Linked DNA regions of Homo sapiens: region 2 is linked to region 1. Evidence: promoter capture Hi-C in human tissues and cell types (Jung and others, 2019). All regions are on one chromosome and are shown on one strand. The core of a region is centred on a gene start or on the middle of the fragment in contact, and the rest is flanking DNA. Distances in the headings are between cores, read along the strand shown. Region 1 holds the start of GP6 (glycoprotein VI platelet). Region 2 overlaps EPS8L1 (EPS8 signaling adaptor L1).

Region 1 (3,184 bases), core at 436-2,935:
AGTATTTATCTGTCAAGTCCGGAATATTTCCTTTAGCATAATGTCTTCAAGGTCCATCACGTTGTAGCATGTATCTGAATTTATTCTTTTATAATATTTTTTATTTTTTGGAGACAGAATCTCGCTCTGTCACCCAGGCTGGAGTGCAATGGCGCGATCTCGGCTCACCGCAACTTCCGCGTCCCGGGTTCAAGCCATTCTCCTGTCTCAGCCTCCGGAGTAGCTGGGACTACAGGTGCCTGCCGCCATGCCCGGCTATTTTTTTTTTGTATTTTTTGGGGGTTTTACTGTGTTGCCCAGGCTGGTCTTGAACTGCTGAGCTCAGGCAATCTGCCTGCCTCAGCCTCCTAAAGTACTAGGATTACAGGCATGGGCCACCACGCCCGGCCTTATTTTTATTTTTGAGACAGTCTCACTCTGCCGCCCAGGCTGGAGTGCAGTGGTGCGATCTCGGCTTACCGCAATCTCTGCCTCCCAGGTTCAAGCGATTCTCATGCCTCCGTCTCCCAAGTAGCTGGGATTACAGGCACCTGCCACCATGCCCGGCTAATTTAACGCCCAGCTAATTTTTGTATTTTTAGTAGAGATGGGGTTTCACCATGTTAACCAGGCTGGTCTCGGACTCCTGACCTCAGGTGATCCGCCCGCCTCGGCCTCCCAAAGTGCTGGGATTACAGGCGTGAGCCACTGTGCCTGGCTGATTTTTATTCTTTTAGTTAAGGCTGGTTGATATTACCTTGTGTGTATATACCACATGTTGTTTATCCATTGTTGTTGATGGACATGTGGGTGGTTTCACCTTTTGGCTATTGTGAATAAAGCTGCTATGAACACTGTGTACAAATATGTTAGAGACCCTGTTTTCAGTTCTTTTAGGTGTGTACCCCGAAGTGGAATTGCTGGATTTTATGGCAATCCCACGTTTAACTTCTGGAGGAGCTGCTGGAACTGTTTTCCACAGCAGGGGCGCCATGTTACGTCCCTGCCAGCAATGCACGCGCAGTTCAATTTCTCTGCATACTCACCAATATCTGCTGTTTTCCATTAAAAAAAATTATAGCCGGTCGGGTGCAGTGGCTCATGCCTGTAATCCCAGCACTTTGGGAGACCGAGGCAGGTGGATCAACTGAGGTCAGGAGTTCAAGACCAGCCTGGCCAACACAGTGAAACCCCATCTCTACTAAAAATACAAAAATTAGCCTGGTGTGGTACATACCTATAATCCCAGCCACTTGGGAGGCTGAGGCAGGAGAATCGCTTGAACCTGGGAGGTGGAGGTTGTAGTGGGCCGAGATGGCGCCACTGCACTCCAACCTGGGCAAAAAGAACGAGACTTTGTCTCAAAAGAAAAAAAAAAAATACAGCCATTCCAGAAGGTGTGAAGTCATATCTCACTGTGGTTTTGATGCGTATTTTCCTAGTGACATCAGGGAGTTTATGGGAGCACGGGAACACAGACCAGGCCCCAGCAGGCGGACAAACGGTGCAACGCCAGGCTGGCCAGAGGAGATAAGCGCGGCTCCTTGGAGCTTGTGTGCAAGTCACTGTACTGAGGAGCCGGCTACGGCTCGATGAGTCTCAATTAGGAAAGGCCGGGGCTGGTGGAGGAAGGGAGGAGAGCATTCTTCATCCTCATCACATCCTGAGCCTGTGCCCCAGGCTCCCACCACTTCCCTCCCTGGCCACAGAGCTCAGGACAGGGCTGAGGAACCATGTCTCCATCCCCGACCGCCCTCTTCTGTCTTGGTGAGTCCTGAGGGTCAGATCTGGGAAATGCTGAAGGACAGGCATGGACTGCCAGACAAAGGATTTTTAAGAAATTTGCATTGGTGATGAATTTCAGGACAAAAAGGAACCTGTAAGAGCCCCTTCATTTGTTGGGTGGGGAAACGGGGGGCCAGCGAGCTGGCATTTTGCATGAGTTATTCCAGTGTATTCATGGCTGGGTCAGGAAATGAACAGAGTATCCTAGCATTGGTCACAACTTTGTTCTACTACACTGCAGTTGCCCCTTTTTTAAAAAATGTGGGCCAGGCACAGTGGCTCACGCCTGTAATCTCAACCTTGGGAGGCCGAGGTGGGTGGATCACCTGAGGTCAGGAGTTCAAGACCAGCCTGGTCAACATGGTGAAACCCCATCTCTACAAAAATTAGCCGGGCGTGATGGCGGGTGCTTGTAATCCCAGCTACGTGGGAGGCTGAGGTGGGAGAATTGCTTGAAACTGGGAGGCAGAAGTTGCAGTGAGCTGAGGTCAGGCATTGCACTCCAGCCTGGGCAACAGAGAGAGCCTCCATCTCAAAAAAAAAAAAAAAAAAAAAAAAAAAGGCTGAGTGCCATGGCTTACACACTTTGGGAGGCCGAGGCGGGTGGGCCATCTGAGGTCGGGAGTTTGAGACCAGCCTGACCAACATGGAGAAACCCCATCTCTACTAAAAATACAAAATTAGCCGGGTGTGGTGGCACATGCCTGTAATCCCAGCTACTCTGGAGGCTAAGGCAGGAGAATCGCTTGAACCTGGGAGGTGGAGGTTGCGGTGAGCCAAGATCACACCATTGCACTCTGGCCTGGGCAACAAGAGCGAAACTCCGTCTCAAAAAAAAAAAAAAAAAAATTGTGGAATTGATATCTGGACTAGGTATGGATTTAATTTGTCAGTATCCCCTACAGTAGTGGAGTAAATAGTCTCCTGATGGATGGGTGGCAGGTCGAATGCATTTCTGCTGCCTGATCTTCACTTGTGCTGGGCATGTCGAATGCATTATTTCCTGATTTCTTCAGAATTTGACCACTAAAGGGACAGCATCTCCAAAAGGCTAAGCAGGAAGAAGATGGTTGCATTACTGGAGATGAGAGGGTTAACTGTGAATATAAACAACCTCTCATTCATTATCCATCCATGGATGTATTCTTTTTTTCTTTTTGTTTGTTTTTTGAGATGGAGTCTCGCTCAGTCGGTCGCTCAGGCTGGAATGCAATGGCATGATCTCAGCTCACTGCAAACTCTGCCTCCCGGGTCCAAGTGATTCTCCTGCCTCAGCCTCCCGAATAGTTGGGATTACAGGCATCTGCCACCAGGTCTGGCTAATTATTGTATTTTTAGTAGGGGCGGGGTTTCACCATGTTGGCCAGGCTGGTCTCAAGCTCCTTACTTCAGGTTCCACCCGCCTCGGCCTCCCAAAGTG
Region 2 (3,184 bases), core at 215-2,714, 45 kb before region 1:
TCAGCTCTGACCCCCAATAAGAGGGACCTCAGCCTGGATCAGGCCTACCTGTGCAGGGGAGAGGGGGGGTCTTCAGGGCCGCGGCACCCCCTGTGTGGGGCCGGCAGCTCCCAGCACGCTGTCCCTGCTGAGACCCTCTGCTCGGGCCCTCACCCAGACCCCCCTTTGTCTCCTCCAGCCTCACTGCTTTGTTTTCGTCTCCTCCCACGTTGCTTCCCTCCAGTCTGCCCTCTATTTGCTCAAGGACCCTAGAGTTCTAGTCCATCTACCTCCTTCCCTCCCCCAGGACCCAGAGTCTGAGCCCCCACTGCTTGGTAGAACCATGACTTGGAATGTTCTTTCCTCCCCCAGGGACCTAGGAGTCCAGGTCTCAAGCTTCAATCTTATCCTTTTAACCCTCAAACCTTTTAACCCAGTCCGACACCCAGCAGCGACTTAGACAATTGCATTAGAGCCTCTGGAAAACCAAGAGTTTAATCGTCCAGCCTTTACCCCTCTCGGGGGCCCAGAGATACTACCACTTCCTAACTTTCCCAGAAACTTGCCCCCAAGCCCTTGAAGTCCCAAGCCTGCTCCTCTGGGTCTCCAGGATCCCAAGCACCAGACTTGGGCTCTTCTTCAAAACCCAAAGGTCCAATTCCCCAGCCTCTCCCCTCCAATATCCAGGGCTCTGTCCTCCTAGGGAGCCCAGGCATGGTGCTTCCCAGGCCCTGGGAAAACAAACTGGCTTCTTCCAGCCTTTTGGGGATCCAGGGATCCAACCTCTCAGACTTTACCCACTCCCAGCCCCCTTCCTCCCTTAGGCCCAGGAATCCGGGTCTCCATTCCCAACTCCCTTAGCCCCAGAAGTCTGGGTCCCGCCCCCTCCCACCCTGCTCCTCCCTCTCTCCCAGCCCCGGCCCGCCCCATCACCATCTCACCCACCTGAGAAGAGCCAGGAAGACAGAAGGAAAAACACAGAAAAAAAGGGGGCGGAGTCAGCATCGGGAGCCCCCGGGACGCACCCCTCCTTGACCCCCTTGCCCTGCCCTGGGGCGGACACTCACCCATTGACAGCGACCTGGGGGGCGCTTTGCTGTAGGAAGTAAGACAGTCGGGTCAGGCGGGGCCAGGCGGACCGGCCGCGCCCCCGGACTTCCCAGCCTCGGCCCTGCTGTGTCGCTTGGGTCACCTGCCGGCGCCTCCGCTCGTGCTGTAGCTGTTTCTCAACTGGGTCCTCCCAGGCGCGGCTCTGCGGGTCAGTGACCGGCGGCTCCCAGCCGCTGAAGAACTCGGGTCTGTATGGGGGTCCCTCCTCCGGGGACAGCTCCAGCCTGCGGCCAGGGACAGGGCCAAGAGCTCAGGGATCCTGATACAGCCCCCAACTTCGTTCCTGCATTAACTTCACTAAGTTTTCCCCTAAAGCTCGCTGTATTCCAACGATTCTAGCCCCGCCACTTTTCACCAAGTCCTGCCGGTAGCTCTAAGCCCAACTCAACAGCAATTTATATTTCTAGACCGGGCACGGTGGCTCACGCCTGTAATCCCAGCATTTTGGGAGGCCAAGATGGGAGGATCGCTTGAGGCCAGGAGTTCCAGACCAGCCTGGGCAAAATATTGAGACCCCATCCATCTCTCTCTCTGGAAAAAAATTGCCTTATCCAGCCTCTAAATCTCACCTGATTCCAAATCAGGTTTTCCGTAAGGTCGGTTTCAGGTTCTGACCCTTTCCCTGCGGAACTGCCAGCCCGCAGTGCACAGACTCTGTCCCATCACCAAAGTTATAGACCAAACCTTCCAGAAGCCCCGCCCCTTCGCGTAGCCCCGCCCCTGCCCCGTAGCCCCTAGCCCCTCTATTCCTTTAAGCCCCCCTTTTCTTTCAATCCGATTGGTCTGGTGGTCTTAAATCTTTCCTTCACGTTAATTCCTGGCCTTTCCTCCAATTGAATCTTGGCATCTGTCCTAAGCCCCGCCCCAACACAACTAAGCCACGCCTCTAACCCCTCCCTACTCTCCTAGTCCTATTTTCCAATCATCATGCCACCCACCTCCCAGCGCCTTATGCTCCTCCAATCACCATGCCCCCTGCCTCCCAGCCCCGCCCCTCACCCGGGGCGGGTCCACGAGTCCCCCAGCGAGGTCCAGAGCTCGTTTTCACGTGGAGTGACGTTGTCCCGCAGCAGCGCCACGGCATCCGATGTCAGATGCGGCCGCCGCACACTGCTCGCGAACTCCGGCCCCCCCGACGTGTTCACAATCTGTCAGGGGAGCAGGAGGGGCAGGCTGTGCCGCCACACCTTCTACAAGTCGAACCCGATTCCTCCCGCTGCAGGGGGGCCCGAGGGCCTGGGGCGGGTCTCACCATCTGCAGAGGCCCGAAAAGGAAGTGCAACAGCTCCGGAGAGGAGGGGTCGGCGATGTTGCCGCGCAGCCGGGCCTGGGGCGTGGGGAGGGAGGTGGTTGGCGTGGGTGCGGGGACGGGACAGGTTCGTCGTGCCCGCGCCCCGGCCCAGGGGCGGGCGCGTCCTCACCAGCAGGCTGAAGGCGTACTTGATCTTCTGCAGCACGTCGGTGTACTCGGCCTCCGAGGGCGGCTTGGCCCGCAGCGTCAGCAAGCCCTCTGAGGGGAGCAGACGGGCGCGGCGATGGGGACGCGGGGCCAGCACCAGGCAGGCAGAGAGAGGTGGACACCCGGTTAAGATGGCGGTGAGGTCAGCCCTGGCAAGTGGCGGGAGGGGAGAGCCTGGGGAGAGCGGGGACATTTGGAAGAGATCGGGAGGGGGTTCAGATCCCACGCCAGGGTGCCCCTTACCCCCAGCCGCCCGGCGCCGGCTCCTGCGGCCGCGTTCCCGGTGCTCCAGCACCCTGGCCGCCTCCGCCGACTTCTGCAGCCTCGATACAAAGCTCTCTACGTCGTCGAACACGTGGTTCAGGATGTCCTAGGGGACAGAGGAGGGGGACGCTCAGGGCTCCCGAGTTCCAAAACCATCCCCGTCGAAGCCCTGAACCTGAGCACCTATACACTTCCCCAGATCAGGCCACGCCCCAAACACCTGGCCACGCCCCACAACCAAGCCCCGCCCCCGACCCAGCCCCTCTTCCATAACGCAGAAGTCTGACCAGAGAACGCCCGTCCCGCAGCCGGCCCCGCCCTTCCACGCCCTAGCCCCGCCTCCAGTCGCCTGGCCCTGCCCCCAGACCCCTT

The links. The method cuts DNA at HindIII sites, captures the fragments that hold promoters and counts their contacts. A contact is called where the count stands out against the background at its distance.
Region 2: a contact is called between a fragment that was not itself captured here and the fragment with the promoter of GP6 in region 1, in 1 of the 25 tissues and cell types used here (neural progenitor cells).

Annotation. Positions count from the first base shown.
Region 1 is chr19:55,036,765-55,039,948 of GRCh38, reverse strand. It overlaps GP6 (glycoprotein VI platelet), which reads left to right and starts at 1,685. Exons shown (of 8, transcript NM_016363.5): 1 at 1,685-1,746. The coding sequence starts at 1,713. All of the region lies in intron 2 of GP6-AS1 (GP6 antisense RNA 1), which reads right to left. It also overlaps a transcript of RDH13 not described here. The HindIII fragment of the contact is 34,893 bases long and covers 1-3,184 here.
Region 2 is chr19:55,081,507-55,084,690 of GRCh38, reverse strand. EPS8L1 (EPS8 signaling adaptor L1) reads right to left here. Exons shown (of 20, transcript NM_133180.3): 9 at 2,792-2,918; 10 at 2,511-2,599; 11 at 2,342-2,416; 12 at 2,089-2,237; 13 at 1,172-1,313; 14 at 1,047-1,075. Among named protein-coding and RNA genes, the nearest start is that of EPS8L1, 7.2 kb to the right of the region's middle. The HindIII fragment of the contact is 6,949 bases long and covers 1-3,184 here.